Regions from separate parts of the Homo sapiens genome. Here region 2 is linked to region 1. Evidence: promoter capture Hi-C in human tissues and cell types (Jung and others, 2019). All regions are on one chromosome and are shown on one strand. Each heading gives the region's core, a stretch centred on a gene start or on the middle of the fragment in contact. The rest is flanking DNA. Distances are from core to core; before and after follow the strand shown. Region 1 holds the start of IL22RA2 (interleukin 22 receptor subunit alpha 2). Region 2 has its middle 8.5 kb from the start of OLIG3.

Region 1 (4,678 bases), core at 1,142-3,641:
TTCTCAAGGGAAAAGTAGAGAATAAGGAGCTACAGCAGGGTTACAACTTCTATTCATCTAACCTTCTCTGTCTTTTTCTTCTCCTTCTTAAATGGGAGATGAAAAGTTTCAGAAGCCGGCTTGCAAAGCCACTTTGCCTCCCACCCTCCATCACAACCATTAACCAAGACTAGAATGTAGGAGGGGAAGCAGGTAAAATGAAAGTGCTAAAAGGAGAGGGTTGGGTGCTGCTGATGTGGAGGAGGCAGAGTCTTCAAAGAGAAAGGGAAGAATGGCCTTCTGCATACAGACAGGAGCAGAGGAGTTGTTCTCAAGTGTAGACCCTCCATCCCAACCCCATGACCCAGCACCTGTGAACATTTCTAGACACTCGGGTGCCTGAGACTGTGAGGCCTTGGGTGGAGCTGGGGCCACGCAGGGAAAACCTTATTCCTGAGCAAAGGGTCTTAGAAGAGAGCTTATCAGAAATTTCCTCAGAAACCAGATCCCAGTGGACCAGGCCACTATCAATTTTCATTTAACAAATTTCAGTTATTGGAGGGCAGTTGCGCTGCATGCTTTCTGAGGCCAGCCCTATGTGGAAAGGTTTGTGTGGATAACATCAGGTTTCCCAGTGCCTCTGTTCTACGGCAGTCTTCTGAATCCAGGCTTGTATCTCCTCCAGCTGAAGTTTTTGGTGCTTATAAGGTAGCTTCTGCTTTGAAAGAAGAAACATGCAGCACGTTTTATGTTCCCTTTTCACCTCTTCATGCTCCTTAGCTTGCAACCTTCTCAGCATTGTTATTCACTTCCCTGCTAATGTTTACCACTTCACATTTACTTTGGTATTTAAATGGGGGATGATAATGTGGGTTTGCACTATTGATGTTCAATGGCTTCAATACCAATAGATCTCATTTTGAAGCCACCAAATTGCTCCAAGTTCCAGCTAAGAATAAAAGGAAAATATTTAAATTCGAGGTTTTATGATGAGAGCAGCAGAGAACGAAATTGAGGTTTCCACTGGGTTGCTGACTTTGTCAAACAAATGAGGGGAAATTAGGCGGAGTGGGATAAGCAAAACATATTTAAGAACTGAATTCTCCCCAAAACGTGAGCTTTGGTGCTCTATTAAATTTCACAAACCAGACCAGTTCTGTCACTGTTCAATTAGCTCTAGTTGTGTAATAGAACCTGCATAAAAGCCAACACTGTCAACAAGGCCTCAAGGTAGATGAAAAGATAAAATTAAATTCTAATTTCCCATCAATCTGGAAGCAGAAGAATTTGTACAGAATTGTTTCAAATGAAATGCTGTTTTGTTTGGGAAGTAAGAAAGTTTTAGTCACTAGGGGATCTCCGCTCTGCCTCCTTTCAGGCATGAAATGCTGGCTTCATTCCCTGCCCTCCCCCGACCTCGGCCCCACTCCGCAGCAGGGAGAGTCCACCTTGACGGTGACAACGGGTATTTCCATCATCGTGTTGACTCTGGAGAGAACTTGCTTAAGCCCCTGTCTTGAACAGATTTGATTCTCTTCTTCCTTTCTTCTTGTGGCTTCCAGCAGACCAACCATTTATCTAATTAAGGAATCATTTTTCATTGTTTTTAGGTGTGATGTGGAATTTTGGTTATTATTTTTATTTTTTTTTAGAGCTACCTATTATAGTACTACAGATGAAATGGTGTCATGTCTGGGATTTGCTTCAAAATAATACAAAGGCCTGGGAAAGGGGGTTACCATCCATGAGCTGATAACTGTTGAAATTGGGTGTCAGGTTTATTATACTCTACTTTTGTATGTACTTAAAATTGTTCATAACAAAGAAAAAAGATTTTTAAAGTTTATCTACAAGATGTGGCCAGACACGGTGGCTCACACCTGTAATCTCAGCACTTTGGAAGGCGGAGGTGGGTGGATCATTTGAGGTGTGGAGTTCCAGACCAGCCTGGCCAACATGGTGCAACCCCGTCTGTACTAAAAATACAAAAATTAGCCAGGCGTGACGGTGTGTGCCTGTAATCCCAGCTACTCAGTGGGGCTGAGGCAGGAGAATTGCTTGAGTCAAGGAGGTGAGGTTTGCAGTGAGCCGAGATCGCGCCACTGCGCTCCAGTCTGGGCAGCGATAAAGCGAGAGTCCATCTCAAAAAAATAAATAAATAAATAAATAAAGTTTACTTACCAGATGCTGTCTTCCTTTTGGTAATTTTAATGCCATTTTAGTGTCAATAATAAGATCTAATAATTATGGGACGCCATGTTATGTTTTTCCCATATTTTGTCTTTGTTAATCCTCTTATGAAGTCTAGGAGATTGGTATTATTATTCATTTGATGTTACAGATGAAGAAACTGAGACATAGATAGAGAGGTGGAGAGAACTTGACCAGGGCTCTATAGCGAGTAGTGGTAAAGTGAGGGCTGAAATCAGATCTGGTTAGCCTCAGGGCCTGAGGAGTATTATGAAACTCCTCTTGTGTTATTCTTTGCTTGTAATAGACATTCCATAAAGGGATAGAATGATGTCAAAGAACATTTGTCCATTGGCTTCTCGAATCGTTTATTCAGTCAAACAAATGTTTATTGAGCAACTGTTATATGCCAGGCACTGTGTTAGACATCGGGGATGCAGAAATGAACAAGACTACAGAGCCAGCCCTCAGGGAACCAACAGCATTTTCTTCAACCAGGTCTTGGTAGCAAAGGGCTAAGTGTTTCTTATTGTTTTTCAGAGAAGTGTTTAAAAACTGGTGTTCAGTATGACTTTGGTGCTGTCCATTGAAGGGAAGTCAGAGCAACTGTGTTTCTGCTAGGCCCTTTCCTTCATCCTATGATTTGGTGGGCAGCTGAGCATCTTTTAAAAGTTTCATCATGAATGATAATCTGAACACCACCCTTCTCCCTCTCTGGAAAACTATAGAGCTGTAGAGCCAACAACAGGGAAACAACTTGTTCTTTCTTATTTGCTGGGACATTAATAGCTCCACCGAGTAATATTCATGTCCTTTAAGCAGTTCGGCATTCTGGAAATAATTGGCATGCAAAAATTCAAAATGGTTTGTGAACTTGAATTCAGAAAAGAAAAAGAAACATTGTTATTCAAACACAGGTGATAAGCACAATGACTAATCTGAGTTTTTGGACTGTGATCACTAATATATTATTTAAAATCTCCACTCATAGGACATAGGGCTTAATGAGGTTAACCTTTCCTGCTCTTCACTCTTATTTTTCTGGATAAAAGATGCTATTGATTTTGCTTTGATTATTCTTTAAAAAATTTTTTAAAATTTATTTCTGAAAACCAAAACATAAAGGAGTGGTAACATTTAAAAAATATGTATTTTTTTTATTTCAGTAGCTGTGCAATAGTGCAAGTGGTTTTTGGTTACCTGGATGGATTGCACAGTGGTGAAGTCTGAGATATTATTGCATCTCTTACCCGAGTAATGTACATTGTACCCAATATGTAGCTTTGATTATTCTTCACCCAAGGTCACCTTGAAACCCCTACCAGATATCATCAATCATTATGCCCATGCACCAGTATGTTTGTATGTATTGTTTGATCCTGAAAATATCTTCATGGCATAACCAGAATCCAACTGGTTTTCACCTCCTCCACTGTACCCATTTGGTAACCTGCTATCATCATCTCTTGTGTGGACTGTGGCCACAGCCTCCTTACTGGTCTGCCTGCCTCTGTCACTGTTCTCTGCATCAGGTGGAGTGTTCCTATTAAATGTCAGAATAGAACATTTTATTCAGAACCCTGTGATGCCTTCCCATCTCACTCAGATTGAAAGTCAACATTTTTCCAGTCCCTTACTAAGCCCTATATAACCAGGTCCTGTTACCTCTAAATTTATTTCCTACTGCTCTCCTCCCAACCCATGGTGCTCCCTCCTGGGTGGTCTTTTTGCTGTTTCTCAAACATATCAGGCACATCCCTACATTAGCAAGGTTCCCTCTGCTCCAATGCTCTTCCTGAGATGTCCAGGCTCACTCCCTCACCTCCTTCATGTCTCTGCTCAAATATTATCTTATCAGTGAATTCTATGACACCCAAAATAGCAGTCCCCAACAGCTGTCCCTGGCACCTTTATCTGTTTGTTTTCCAAAACATTTATCATCATTTGGCAGGCTATGTTTCATTTTATTCTTGTTGTCTATCTCCCCAACTAGGATATAAGCTCCACGAGGTCAGGGATGTTATGTGTTTTGTTCACTGCTTTAACTCTAGCACTTAGGACAAGGCTGGGGACACAGTAAGCCCTTATCACATGTCTAGTGAATCAAAAAAAAGGAATGTGATTTTAGCAACTGCCATGAATTTACAAGAATTAAGCTAAAGGAACGGGAAGGTGCTTTTCTGCTTTTTATGGTCTGAAGTAGGAGTCCTGAGGGGAAGGGGCTGAGATTCTGTGGACTGTGAGGTTACTATGGTCAGATACTCACGAGCTCAGACACTCATGGGCAACAATGACCTTTGCAAAATCATGCAATGTTGCAGTCAGCTCGTCAGTTGGATAAATTAATCTGAGTGACCTAGGAATTATCTGCTTCTTAAGGATACATAGATTTCCCTGAGAAATCATCTGGGTGCTTTTGGAATTTGGGGGCAGAAAATACAGGATAGTATTATCTGACAATTTTCTAATTCTTCTATGGTAATTAGTGTGTTTCGATTTTTTTTTTATC
Region 2 (4,678 bases), core at 550-3,049, 310 kb after region 1:
CACCTAGGAAAGCACTCTTATGACAATGCTGCTTTTGAAAGCTAAAGCACCTCTGAATGGCTTTGGTTCTGGAACACACTTCTGCATAGCTCATTTTTTTGTAACAATACAGGCTGGAAATGAAGATATGAAAAGAGGGTTGGGGGCTTCCTAGAAACCAAAACTAGTTGGAAGAGCAGGCAGATTGTGTGTGCAAGGACTTTGCAAGAAGGCCAGGAGAATGTAAACCCTATGTTTCCCTAAAGCAATGAAGTAGCCAGTGGAAGTGGGCAAATAGAGGGGCGTGATCACATGGAATGAAAATAAAGGCTGGAAGCAGAGAGGTAGAGAAGATAGCAAAAAGATGACTAGATAATTGAGAAGCAAGATAGAGGAATAGAGGAAGAAAGGAAAACTGAGGAGGAAGAACAAGGAGAAAAAGGGAATCTCCCATAAATCTTTTATCTCTTGGAAGTACGTAGGCATGGTCCTTTTTCTAAGTACTATTGTAATGACCTAAAGCCTATATAAGTGAAGAATAAACCAATAAGAGTAATTCTTGATGCCAAGTTACCACCAGAAATGTTTTCCATTTTTAAAAAGTGGCCACCACGTTCCTTGCCTTACCTGCCCCACTTAATCCTTTTCATCCCTGCCCTGCAGATTCTGCCTTGCCATTGCTTACTTCTGACCTCTTTCTTTCAAGCCTAAAGTATAGGGAAACATGGAATGTTTCATTGAATATTCTAGAGTCAACAAAGTAGAACATCCTTGCATACCATAATGGTATGTATTTTAGATGAGCAACCTTTATATAAAATTTCAAAGGAAGTTAATTCTAGAAAAAGAAAAGAATCTATAATGGTCAAGTAAATAATTATAAGAAAAACATCTCACCTCTCAATGTTCCCTCAGATGAAGTCTAGGTTCTCTGCAGTGAGAGTTCATAGGAACCAAAATTTAGAAAATTTAGCACTGTCCTGCTGATCTCTTCTACCCCTTCCTCCAGGTATTCCAGCACTGTCAGCATCAGCCACTTCAGGGCCAAATTAGTATGAAACCTGGCTGAGGTTTAAATAAAATTATTTCTAAAAAATATTAGGTCTCTCCATTTTTAATGTAATTTCTTGTGTTGAGATCTAGTATTTACTGTGAAAAATACACTAAATGTTTCTTAGTATTTTCTACTTAAAAACCTGCTGATAGCAATAATGATGAAAAGTTACTAGTCAAATAAAGATGGGAACATCAAACACTGGGGACTACCAGTGAGGGGAGGGTGGGAGTGGGGCGAGGGCTGAAAAGCTACCTTTTGAGTACTATGCTCGCTACCTGGGTGACAAGATCATTCGTACACCAAACCTCAGCAACACGCAATTCACCCATGCGACAAAGGTGCACACGTACCACCCGAAACTAAAATAAAAATTGAAAAAAAAAAAAAAAGAAAAGTTACTAGTCAAGTTAATATACTCTCTGGCCCTGAAGAGATCACATGTTTCAATTAAGAGCCTGGCAAACACTCCACAGGATGAAGAAAATGCTGGAGAACCAAGTACCTAAGGGTAAAAAATGAAAAAAAAAAATGTCTATATCAAAATGCTCTTTGGGAAGAGACGTTGCACATTAGTCTCTGCAAAGGAGAGAGGAAGAAACTAACCCACCTCTACCTGGTCAGACAGTAGAATTTCTAAAACTGTACTTAATTCACTCTGACTTATTAATAATATAATTTAGTAAAAATGGGAAACAAATTGCTTCCCTTTCTTCTATTTCCCCATGGACTATTTAGCAAGAGGGAATGGCTTCTAATTTTTCATGTTTGTGTCTCTACAGCACTGTAGGGAAGTCAGATTTTGAGAACATCATTGCATAGATTTGCCTTTAGTATCAAAAGGGGCAACTCTTTGCGTTACACAGGTCACAATGTCTGTCCATCTGTCTGGATCCCATTTTTCGCATGACTGGAATGAACAGTTAGCTATACAGAAAACCAGAACAAGAGTCCAGCATTGACTATGGTCAAACTTAGTTTAAATGGTGAGTCCCTTTTGATTCACTAGATTTTTATATTTTCCCAGTGAGAAAAGTGCCACCGTTCTACATGAAGCACCATTTAATGCCAATTGCCTATGAGCCGGCCTCCCTCATGTGTTTACCTTATATTGACTAGCTCGTATACCACTATCTGGTCCAGTCAACTGTGGCACGAAAGGCAAAGGATGGCTTTAACCAGTGCCTGACCCTTCAGCATCACTTCCTTAAGAAGTAATAGTGGACTTGGCAAACTGTGTGGCTCCATAGACTCTTCCTGCCATTGCCTAGTTCAAGCAAACAACTAATTTCTAAAACAGTTAATATCCACATCTTGATCACCTTCATAATACTCATCTCTATAGATGCTAGATTTCACCTTTCTGCAATGTTTTATTTAAATGGACCCACAATGACCAAACTGATACCAAATTGAAACTATTATCTTTTTAATTAGTGTAGGACATGTTTATATTTTTTTCTTAAAGAGATGCTTTGAAAATTCAATTTTTCCAATTAACCATCTCTGATGCAAAGTTAACTGAATGACTGCTAGTTTGCTTGGGCTCCAGTATATCTGATTAACTGTTCTATTTTAGAAATATATTTAATTACATCATGCAGTTTTCACCTTACAGGTGTGAAAAGACACAGAGACTAACAACCCAAACCTGCCTCCTATATTTTTATTCTCTTCTTTGTCTTTCTTATGACACTCAAATCCTGTCTTCTTAGATTTAAATTATTAATAGAGAAACAACTGGAGAAATAACCAAACCAAAAATTTATTACGTGATGGAACAAACTAATTAATACAAAAGAAGATTGGATAAATAAAATATAGTCAAAGCCCCAAATTAAAGAGAAAGAAATTCAACACAGAAGGATAAGGGGACAGAGAAGTCAAACAAGCTCTTTTTTTAACTTTTGTCCAAGAACCCCTGGCCTCAAGCTTTAAAGATTACCGGAAGCCCCAAAGGAGCTCCCTCCGGTCTTCTCTGAGGATCCAGCGCAGATCCAACAATTGAGTGCTGAATCTTTGTGTTCTAGGTGGGATTATTTATCAGGGATTTTGTTTTGTCTGGGTTTTCAATGGCCCGGCCCCAGCTGTACATTTGGGGACAGACCACAGCTTCAGTCAACAGAGGGTTTGTAGCGATCCATTCGGAAGCTTCCCTCCCCCTGCAGGGATGGAGTAATTAACAGACCATTAAGTCACTTCTGCTTTATTGAAGGGGATACTGTGCAGGTCATTTCTTTGAAAACTTTTGTTCTTGAAGGAAATTACAGGATTGTTTTATGTTCAGAACCACAGCCTGGTGTACTCTGGAGTCCAGAGGCAAATTTCTGTAGCTGGGGGAACTACAGAGACAAGGAGGATAATGACAGTAATCCCATTAAAAAAATATCTCCCCCAACTCCTCTTCTTTTATTTTTTTTCTTTAAAAAAACAGTTAAAAGAAAAACGATTTGCTCATTTGCTAATAACTAATAGGGACATGAAATACAGAGATGCCCCAGACTGAAATTTATCTCTGTGTCAATAAATCTCTAAACAACTGCCACGAAACCAAGTACTGCCACCATTGCTTCTTTTTATTTCCATATTAATCAAAAGCATCTGCTCCTGTCCTTTCCAGTAGAGGGAATGGGCAGTGAGTTTTCTAGCATCTGAAAAAGCGCCTGGAAGGACGTGTTTACAGCACTTGTGTTTTGTGCGGCCAGTAGAATTTTTACCCTAGGACTTAGGTGACTTAGGTAACCGATGTTTTCCCTCTAGGCTCTGAGGGCACAGAGGACAGGAGCTATTTCTTATGCATGTGAATGCCTTATTTCTCTTACTGTTTTACTTTTTTTTTTCCCCTCTGTTGTCGCTCCTAGCACCTGGCACATCGGAAGCATTCAGAAAATGTTCGTTGCTGAATTGGGGGAAGATTGAGAGAAACTCCAAAAGAAGTAATGCCAAGGCTTGTGTTGCTAGGAGTCCACTAGAACGCTATATGTTTACATTTGGTTTCAAATGATGGTGTGGATTTCCTTGTCCTTTCCCGGAGTAGACGGAAGGGAGGCGAGATGGTGGGAGGCTGAATAACCAGGAGGAGAAAGGAGTCGCCATAAAATGCACCCGCGCCACCCTCCATGTCCCCCAGTGGAATTGAGGATCTTGCTTGTGGCAAAAGTGCGTTCTTGGCACCACAGCCCCGCAGCTGGGGAGGGGGGCCTCAGTACCCGGCTTCCGCAATTTTCCAGGCGTGGAGGTGAGGGGTGCTTGCGTGTAAACTGTGGCAACCCCCAGAATCAGGCCCTGGCTCCTGCACTTTCGGAGGTGTCTGTTGCAGACCACGAGGAAAAGAGGGGTCTTACTCAAGTCAGGGCCGGACAGAACTCCAAAACTTACGAGGACAGCTATCCAACACTGCCTCACAGACCCTTAGGCGCTGCCCCCTCTTTGCCCCTGTCCTCCTGCGGTGCGAGAAACCCGACCACTCTGCTTCTACCCGAACCCCAGGACGCAACAGTAAAATCAAGGCCCGTCGTTGAACTCCCAGGTCTGCGCATCCCTCCCTCCTGGCTCCCTGGGGTCTTGGCCCCAGCAGGTCCAGTACCCATCCCCAGAGGGACCCACTACCCTGGGCGTCCCAGGGTGCCAGGCACGATGGCCTGC

The links. The method cuts DNA at HindIII sites, captures the fragments that hold promoters and counts their contacts. A contact is called where the count stands out against the background at its distance.
Region 2: a fragment that was not itself captured here is called in contact with the fragment with the promoter of IL22RA2 in region 1 in 2 of the 25 tissues and cell types used here (H1 embryonic stem cells and neural progenitor cells).

What each region holds. Positions count from the first base shown.
Region 1 is chr6:137,171,253-137,175,930 of GRCh38, forward strand. It overlaps IL22RA2 (interleukin 22 receptor subunit alpha 2), which reads right to left and starts at 2,392. Exons shown (of 7, transcript NM_052962.3): 1 at 2,161-2,392. RefSeq lists enhancers at 492-1,250, 1,147-1,366. The HindIII fragment of the contact is 17,145 bases long and covers 1-4,678 here.
Region 2 is chr6:137,483,508-137,488,185 of GRCh38, forward strand. No RefSeq gene overlaps it. Among named protein-coding and RNA genes, the nearest start is that of OLIG3, 8.5 kb to the right of the region's middle. RefSeq lists an enhancer at 3,879-4,554. The HindIII fragment of the contact is 6,598 bases long and covers 1-4,678 here.